3 separate regions of the Homo sapiens genome follow, and regions 2 and 3 are each linked to region 1. The links are contacts of gene promoters, found by promoter capture Hi-C in human tissues and cell types (Jung and others, 2019). All regions are on one chromosome and are shown on one strand. Each heading gives the region's core, a stretch centred on a gene start or on the middle of the fragment in contact. The rest is flanking DNA. Distances are from core to core; before and after follow the strand shown. Region 1 holds the start of ACSL6 (acyl-CoA synthetase long chain family member 6). Region 2 overlaps FNIP1 (folliculin interacting protein 1). Region 3 overlaps MEIKIN (meiotic kinetochore factor).

Evidence for each region. Contacts are between HindIII fragments. The study calls those that stand out against the background at their distance.
Region 2: a fragment that was not itself captured here is called in contact with the fragment with the promoter of ACSL6 in region 1 in 1 of the 25 tissues and cell types used here (mesendoderm cells).
Region 3: a contact is called between a fragment that was not itself captured here and the fragment with the promoter of ACSL6 in region 1, in 1 of the 25 tissues and cell types used here (aorta).

What each region holds. Positions count from the first base shown.
Region 1 is chr5:132,010,249-132,013,291 of GRCh38, forward strand. ACSL6 (acyl-CoA synthetase long chain family member 6) reads right to left here and starts at 1,410. Exons shown (of 21, transcript NM_001009185.3): 1 at 1,257-1,410. The coding sequence starts at 1,305. It overlaps LOC124901062 (a long non-coding RNA gene), which reads left to right and starts at 1,208. Exons shown (of 2, transcript XR_007058933.1): 1 at 1,208-1,297. The HindIII fragment of the contact is 8,903 bases long and covers 1-3,043 here.
Region 2 is chr5:131,790,236-131,793,278 of GRCh38, forward strand. The region is part of intron 1 of FNIP1 (folliculin interacting protein 1); the gene reads right to left. Among named protein-coding and RNA genes, the nearest start is that of FNIP1, 5.3 kb to the right of the region's middle. The HindIII fragment of the contact is 6,324 bases long and covers 1-3,043 here.
Region 3 is chr5:131,841,472-131,844,514 of GRCh38, forward strand. All of the region lies in intron 11 of MEIKIN (meiotic kinetochore factor), which reads right to left. Among named protein-coding and RNA genes, the nearest start is that of FNIP1, 46 kb to the left of the region's middle. The HindIII fragment of the contact is 8,494 bases long and covers 1-3,043 here.

The DNA of each region.
Region 1 (3,043 bases), core at 160-2,659:
ATGGTGGGGGTGAAGGAAGTGATTACTAGGCCCACCAACCCTCCAGGTTCAGGCCTGATCCAGCCAAGCACTTAGCATTGGTTGATCAATTAAAACCTCGAATGGAATCCCAGTCTGCCAAATATCCATGTGACACTAGGCAAGTCAATTGACCTCTGAACTCAGTAAAAAAAGGGATGGTGCCACCGACCTCCTAGGGTTTTCCATGAATATTAAATAACACGTACAAAGCCTCAGGTAAAGATTTCAAGAGGGTCAACTTCCTCCCCTTCCTTGGCTCAGAAAAAGCTTTATTACCACTTCTGATGGTGCTGTTTGAATGTGAGATAATAATAAACACTAACATTCATAGAGCATTTGCTGTGGCCTAGGACAGGTTTAAGGCCAATTTAAGGATCAAGCACTGCACACAAATTATCAGGCTGAATCTGCACATGGGGGTTGGGGTGGAGGTGGAGATCCTTTAGTGGTATTATACTCTGGAGGACCCCAGGCTCAGAGAGGGGAAGTAGCCGGTGCAGGTGGTAGAACTGGCAGATAAAAGGGCCTGTGGTGAGACTCCAGGTGTGGGTGTATGGGGGGTTGAGGGAGGTAAGCGCGGAGGCGGGATCGAGCAGGGGTCCTTGTAGCCGCCTAAGAAGTGCAGTGGTGAAGCTGACTCCTGTGAGGTGGAGGGGAGGGGTCTGGAAACAGTGGAGACACAGCAGCCCTGGGCAGAGCAGAGGAGCCAGGTGAACCCTACCTTACAGAAATCTTGTACTCTGGCTGAAGGACGGGCAGGGAGGGGTCGTGAGGAAGCCCCTCGCCGGGATCAGGAAGCCTAGGTCAGTCCGGGTTACATAGCTGACCTGCTGTGGGACCTCGGGGACCAACACCCTCGGTTTCTGGTCCCAGGAGATGGACAAGGACGCAATGTCTGTTCCTGGCCTTGGCTCAGGGCCTAATCTGATCCGCGGATGGTCCTTGCCATCAGGGAAGGGGGACGCAAGAACTCGGCGGGGGTTTGTGGTGGGGTCGCAGAGAGCAAGCCCTATATCTCCCTCCGCAGACCCAGGTGCTCCCCAAACCCGGCCCGGAGCCCGCGAGAACTGGGGGCGGAGGGTGTACTTAGGCGGCCCTGGGGACCTTGACGGGACAGCTCAGCAGCAGGGGATGGGGGCTCGGCGGCCGCGGAGATGTAACACCTCCACCTCGGGCGAAGACCTCATAGCCTGCGGGAGATGGGAGTCCGGGACGCGGACAGGACGGGCACTTACCTACGAATAGCCAGAGGGAGCCCCCCGACACGAGGAAGAAGGTCAGCATGGCGGTCAGCGGGGCCCGGCCCGGCCCGGCCCGGCCTCCCCGACCCGCAGCCCCGCAGCCCCGCAGCCCAGCAGCCCCAGCAGTAGCCGCGCCGCCGCCGCCGCTGCCGGGTATTTTTAGCCCCCGCCCTCCGGCCCCGCAGCTCCCGCCTCCCCGCGCCGCTGCGGAGACGGCTCAAGGGGGAGGGCGCGGCGCGCACTCGCAACCGAGCCTTACTCCCTGCCCTGCAGCCTGGCCGGCCGGGTCTGGGGCTTGCCCCGCACTGACCGCGGTGTCGGAACCGCCAAGCTCCCGGGCGGGGGAGGGGCCCGGCCGCAGAGCGAACCAGCCCTCTCCGGCCCCGCTCTCCAACGTCAGTACCTGGCATTCTGCGGAAACCGGCTGGAAGGGGGAGCACGGGCGACGAGCGCCAGAGCGTGACATTGAGCCCACCCCGCCGCCACCCACCCCATCAACACGCGACCCTGCCCCCGCGCGACTCGCAGCCTGGGTTTTATGGCTGGGCAGGCTCGAATGGCAGCCGGGTCGCGGTTACCTGTCCTAGGAGGTGCACACTCCTGTGGGCTGTTGCCCGCTGACACCAACGCCCCCTAGGACCCGAGTTTGCAGACATGGGGAGCCTCCGGGTGCCACCTCTGCAAACCAGTGAGGGGAGGGAGTGGCAAGTGTTCACCTAGGCTCTGACAAATCAGGCAGCTAGACCAGATAGTGCCCAGATCATCTGGGGACGCACGAGTTCAGGTCTGAGGCTACGCAAGGTCACAGGAGACTCAGTGTGATCACAGGCTGCCATATGTGTTCACCAGTAGTAACATGGTCACAGGCAGCCACATGGAATCACAGGTGTCTCATGAGGAAATCATGATCTTCGTACACAACTGTATGTGGCACACGAGGTCTCAAGAAGCCCCTCATAGCCACAATAAATGGCCATATAGCCACACACAGCCACAGATGCCCACACTGCTGGGCTGAGGGCTTGGACACCTGTTGCAGTGTCTGCCATTGAAAGGAGGAAGCCCAGTTGCACATTTTCTGAAATAATAAGGGTAGGCATCCTGGTGGGCACCCCATGAACATCTGCACCTCCAAGCAAGATCACCTCTTCCCAATGCCCTTGCTTGTTTTCCTCAAGCATGCAGAGCCCACCAGGACTCCAGCACCGAGGACAGCGCTCAGGCAGCCGGGCCTTCTCTATACGCAGCCCTCCCAGGCCAGGAGCTGGCTGAGCCACAGCCCAGAAAGAAGAGGATAGAAAACCAGAGAGCAGAAGTCAGGAAGCAGAGAGTGGAAGAGCATGAGATCTCTTCAGGCCCACCAGAGACCATCAGCCATGAGTGCATGTGGGCTCACAGCTCAGCAGCTGGGTGTGTGGGGGGGCCTGTATCTGTAGTACGAGTACATGGCATGTGTGTGCCCAGGCCTGTGTGCACCTTGTAGTGGTGCAAGTGTGCAGATGTGTGCCTCTGAGTCACTTCCAATCTTTACAATAGGATCCTACACCTTCTCCATCATAGGATCTGGACTCCTGGGAGAGCTGCTCCAGCTTGAACTCAGCCACAGCCTGGCAGGGACTTTGCTGGGATCTCAAGCTTGGCAGGGCTCCTCCAAGAGGGTGTGACAGAGGCTGTATGGCAGGACTCCTCCCAGCAAGTAACATGGCTTTGAGAATCCCCCCACCCCACCCATACACTCCCACTGGCAGCAGAGTAACTGGAGATCTGCTAGTACTGAAGAG
Region 2 (3,043 bases), core at 370-2,869, 220 kb before region 1:
AGAAGGTGGCTATTTTTGATAGCGTGTTTAAGATCAGCCTCTATACTGGCCTGGGCAACGTGGCGAAACCCCGTGTCTACAAAAAATAAAAAATTAGCCAGCCATGATGGCCCACACCTTGCAGTCCCAGCTATTCGGGAGGCTGAGGTGGGGAGATGGCTTAAGCCCAGGAGGCGGAGGTTGCAGTGACCCAAGATCGCACCACCGCTCTCCCGCCTGGGCGATAGAGCAAGAACCTGTCTCAAAAAAAAAAAAAAAAAAAAAAAAGGCACCTACTTAGTTGCTCCAGCCAAAAACCTAGGCATCTATTCCCCATACACAACCCCTTACGTGAATTTACAGAGTTCTGACTATAAAATAAATCTTGATGCTTAACACTGAAGAAAAGGCTCAAGTAAGCAAAGAAGAGAGACGTGGACAATGACAACTATGACAGATGTCACAGAAGGACATGCAATAAGCTATGAAACAAAGTTACAGTCAGACCTACTCTAGTCTGGAAGAAATCAGAAAAGGCTTCCTGGAGGAAGTAGTAATTAGAATAAGCCCAGATGATCACTACAAAAAGCCAAACAAAAAGGTATAAGGGACTATATCAAGAACAGGGAGCAGTACAGCTTGGCACATCCCAGAATCTAAAATAAATCAAAGGTGATAAACTCTTAGAAGGAGGAGTGTAGATTAAGACATAGGCCAGAAGAAAGCAAGAAGTTATCAAAGATTAATGAGGTCATGTCAAAAAGAAACAGAAGTCAACCTAAAAAGGCTTCCATTGGCCAAATATGAGACAATTTGACAGGAGTGGATTAAAACACACTAAAATCCAATAGCTCATGATAATCTTTTAAGATGATAATTAAAACAAAAAACCTGCAGTGAACAGCTCATTACCAATTACTTTGGAAAATGACAAAGGGAAATCACCTTTTATGCTCCCTTTTCTGTAGCAAGGAGTAACCAAATAGTTGATAAAAGTTATTCCAGCAAATAAATGCATAAAAAATTAGAGAATCAGGATATCACCATTTTGCAAACTCTAACAAAATAATGAATTCAGGCAATGATCAACAAAGAATGCTAAAATCATTAGTTAAAGGGCAAATTATGTAATAGAAGAATAAGGCTGATACCACCTGAAATCACTACAAGTGGGGCAACCAGGTAGGTAACTTTGATGAATAGGAAGTACACAACATCTACAAAATAATTTTATTGAAAAAAAGGGAATGTAAATATGATAAAATATCTAAATCGAACTTCAAGTTTTCAGGAAAGACAAGAAACAGAGAAATAGGTTATAGCAAACTTACAGCAAACCTGAGCATCAGAATTGCCTGGAGGGGCTTTTTAAACCACATATTGCTGGGAAACCATAAGACTGGAAAAGCCAAACACAGAATGTGGGGAATTTCACATTTAAGTGGGGGAGGGCTGTTATAGAATAAAATTTACTTAAGCTGCCTAACTGCAAATGCAATATACAGACTCTTAAGACTGATTCAAACAAAACTACCATAAAAAGACATATTGAGATGACACCAAATTGGAATATGGACTAAGAATGGCTTTTATTAAGGAATTTCTGTTAATTCTATTAACAATAATACTATAGTGGCTTTTTTAAAAAATGTCATTATGGAAAGAAAAAAAAAAAGTCAAGGCTAGCAAATTAGCAAAAGCCATACTATGTAGAATGGGCAAAAGCCATCCTTTAATGAGTCTGGGCCCAAACTAAGTGGTTTTTACACAAAACTGATATAACAGTAACAACTACTTCTGGTTCCTGAAAGCCATGTGCTAAGCACCACATTAAGTTCTTTACATGACTTATCTCTGAATCCTTAAAATAAACCTGTTATGAAGATATTAAATTCTATACATCATTTTGTCTCATTTTGTCTGCTGTTCATGATGATAACTGGCACTTTTTTTTTTTTTTTTTGAGACGGAGTTTCACTCTTGTTGCCCAGGGTGGAGTGCAATGGCGCGATCTCAGCTCACTGCAACCTCCGCCTCCCGGGTTCAAGCGATTCTCCTGCCTCAGCCTCCTGAGTAGCTGGGATTACAGGCGCCCGCCACCACACCCAGCTGATTCTTGCATTTTTAGTAGAGATGGGGTTTCACCACATTGGCCAGGCTGGTCTGGAACTCCTGACCTCAGGTGATCCACCTGCCTCGGCCTCCCAAAGTGCTGGGATTACAGGCATGAGCCACCGTGCCCAGCCACAATTGGCACTTTTTAAAAAGTGACATATTGAGGGTAGTTTGGAAAAAGGCAAGAGTGATCACAGAAAGACCAGTTAAAAGGCTGAGTACCTTAAGAATCCCTGATATAAAGAATCAGAATAAATGTTCATATATTTGGGATACAGGATGAGCATCTCTAGTCCAAAATTTTTTTGATCACTGACAAGACGCCACAGTGGAAAACTTCACATCTGACTTCATGTGAGGAGTCAAAATGCAGTCGACACTTTGTGCACAAAATCATTAAAAAGTACTGTATAAATTATGTGCTATTATGTGTACAAGGTATGTATGAAATAAAAATGAATTTTATGTTTAGACTTAGGTCCCACCTCTGAAAAAACACATTATGCATATGCAAGTATTCAAAAATCCAAAAAATTCCACAATCCAAAACACTTCTAGAACCAGGCATTTCAGGTAAAGGATACTCAACCTGTATAACAAAAATCCAGACATTATTTAACAAAACATTAATTATGCCCTACAAACATTTCACTTCAAAACAACCTTCTTTGCCAAATTAGTTTTCAGGAATTTTATTTAAAACAATCTTTTTTTTTGAGACAGGATTTCACTCTGTTGCCCAGGCTAGACTAGTGCAGTGGCGCAATCATGGCTCATCACTGCAGCCTTAACCTCCCAGGCTAAGCAACCTCCCACCTCAGCATCCTGAGTAGCTAGGACTACAGGTGCATGCTGCCACACATGGCTAATTTTTTATATTTTTTGTAGAGACAGGGGTTTTGCCATGTTGCCCTGGCTGGTCTTGAACTCCTGGGCTCAAGCACTCCTC
Region 3 (3,043 bases), core at 226-2,725, 170 kb before region 1:
GTTACACAGGTATAGACTACTATTGTTTTCAAATATAGCTTGAAATTAGGAGGTGTGATGCCTCCAGCTTTGTTGTTTCTAAAGATTGCTTTGGCTATTTGAAATCTTTTGTGGTTCCATATGAATTTTAGGATTGTTTTTTCTATTTCTGTGAAAAATTACATGGGAATCTGGATAATGATTGTAACGAATCTGTAGATCACTTTGACATGTGGACATTTTAACAACATTACTTCCTCCAATCAATGAAATGGTATATCATTACATTTATTTGTGCCTTCAATTTCTTTCATTAATGTCTTATAATTTTTAGTATATAGCTCTTTTGCCTCCTTGGTTGTATTTGTTCCTAAGGATATTATTTTCTTAATCCCTTTTTTGGAAGCTCACTGTTAGTGAATAAAGACAACTGATTTTTGTATATTGACTTTGTATCCTGTAATAAGATATTGTTTATTAGTTCTAACAGTTTTCATTGAAGTCTTTAGTTTTTCTTTCATGTGAAATCATGTCATCTACAGAGACAATTTAACTTCTTTTTTTTTTTGAGACAGAGTCTCACTCTGTCTCCAGTCTGGAGTGCAGTGGCACGATCTTGGCTCACTGCAACCTCCACCTCACAGGTTCAGGGACTACAGGTGCATGCCATCACGCCCAACTAATTTTTGTATTTTTAGTAGAGATGGGGTTTTACCATGTTGGCCAGGATGATCTCAATCTCTTGACCTCGTGATCTGCCTGCCTCGGTCTCCCAAAGTGCTGGGATTACAGGTGTGAGCCACCTTGCCTGGCCAACTTCTTTTTCAATGTGGATGCTTTTTATTTCTTTTCATTGCCTAATTGCTCTGGCTCAGACTTCTAGTACTATGCTGAATAGAAGTAGCAAGAATGGGTACTCAGGTCTTGTTGCTCATTTTAGAAGAAACTTTCAGCTTTTTATCATTGAGTATATTAGTTGTGGGCTTATCATTAATGGCCTTTATTGTGTTGAGGTACATTCCATCTATACCTAATTTGTTGAGAGTTTTTATCATTAAAAATTTTGGATTTTGTCAATGGTTTTTAAGCATTGATTGCAATGATAATACGTTTTTTCTTCTCTTGATGTTTTTCATTGTGATTTGTTGATTTTTTTTTGCAATAGTGTGTGTTCATTCTTTTCTATTTATCTTTTGTGTATTTACTAAAGGATTGTTCTCTGTGGTTACCATAGGGCTCACATAAAACATCTTGTAGTTAGAACATTCTATTTTAAGCTGATAACAACTTAACTTCAATCACATACATTCTATGCTTTTACTCCACCCTTCCACATTTTATGCTTTGGATATCATGCTTTACAACATCTTTTTATTTTGTGTAGTCTTTAACAAATGATGGTAGCTCCAACCCCACATTTTCCCTCCACACTGCCCTAGTAGAGGTTTTCCATGAGGGCTCTGCCCCTGCAGCAGACTTCTGCCTGGATGTCCAGGTGTTTCCATACAGCCTCTGAAATCTAGGCAGAGGTTCCCAAACCTCAACTCTTGCCTTCTGTGCACCTGCAGGCCCAACACCATGTGGAAGCCACCAAGGTTTGGGGCTTACCCTCTTAAGCAATAACTTGAACTGTACCTTGGCCCCTTTTGGCCATGGATGGAATTGGAGTGGCTGGGATGTAGGGCGCCATGTCCCAAGGCTGCACAGAGCAGCAAGGCCCTGGGCCTGGTCCAGAAAACCATTTTTCCCTCCCAGGCCTCCAGGCCTGTGATGGGAGGGGCTGTTGTGAAGGTCTCTGAAATTCCCTGTAGGTATTTTTCCCACTGTCTTGGATATTAACACAGCTCCTCTTTACTTACACAAATTTCTGCAGCTGGCTTGAATTTCTCCCATCAGAAAATGGGTTTTTCTTTTCTACCACCTGGTCAGGCCACAAATTTTCCATACTTTTATGCTCTTCTTCCTTTTTAAATGTAAGTTCCAATTCAGACCACCTCTTTGTGAACAACACATATAAACATAGGCTGTTAGAAGAAGCCAAGCCACGTCTTGAATGCTTTGCTTAAAAATTTCTCCCACCAGATATCTTAAATTATTTCTCTCAAGTTCAAAGTTCCACAGATCTTTACAGCAGGAGCACAATGCTGCCAGTATATTTACTAAAGCATAGCAAGAGTAACCTTTACTCCAGCTCCCAATAAGTTCCTCAGCTCCATCTGAGACCTCATCAGCCTGGCCATCTCTGTCCATATCACTATCAGCATTTTGGTCAAAACCATTCAACAAGTCTCCAGGAAGTTCCAAACCTTCCCTCATGTTCCTGTCTTCTTCTGAGCCCTCCAAACTGTTTCAGTCTCTGCCCATTACTCAGTTCCAAAGCTGCTATCATATTTTCAGGTACCTTTATAGCAATGCCCCATTTCTCTGATATCAATTTTCTGTATTAGTCTGTTCTCACATTGCTATAAATAACTACCTGAGACTGGGTAGTTTATAAAGAGAAGAGGTTTAATTGACTCACAGTTCCACAGGCTGTACAGGAGTTATGGCTGGGGAGGCCTCAGGAAACATGGTTACGGCAGAATGTGAGGTGGAAGCAAGCATATCTTCATGTGGCAACAGGAGAAAAAGAAAAGGGAGAAGTGCCACACACTTTCAAACAACTAGATCTCGTGAGCATTCACTCACTGTCACAAGAACAGCAAGGGGGAAACTGCCCCCATGATTCAATCACCTCCCACTAGATCCCTCCCCCAACACTGGGAATACAATTCAACAAGAGATTTGGGAGAGGACACAGAGCCAATCTATATCATTCCAGACTTACCCTTTCACCTAAAACAACAAAAATAAATCAGAAAAAAATATATGAAACAACAGTTTTCAAGACACTGGACATCAGACATTGAAGGACAGTAATCTCCAAGAGATTGAAAACAAACAATATGAGTCTTACAATTTCCCCAACTTACTGCCTTGAGAGAATTTCTAGCCTGCAGTACAGGGAGGGAAAACTAAGCAGTACCCAGCAGACTGCCTGACTTGAGGAGATGTAGCTGAGTAC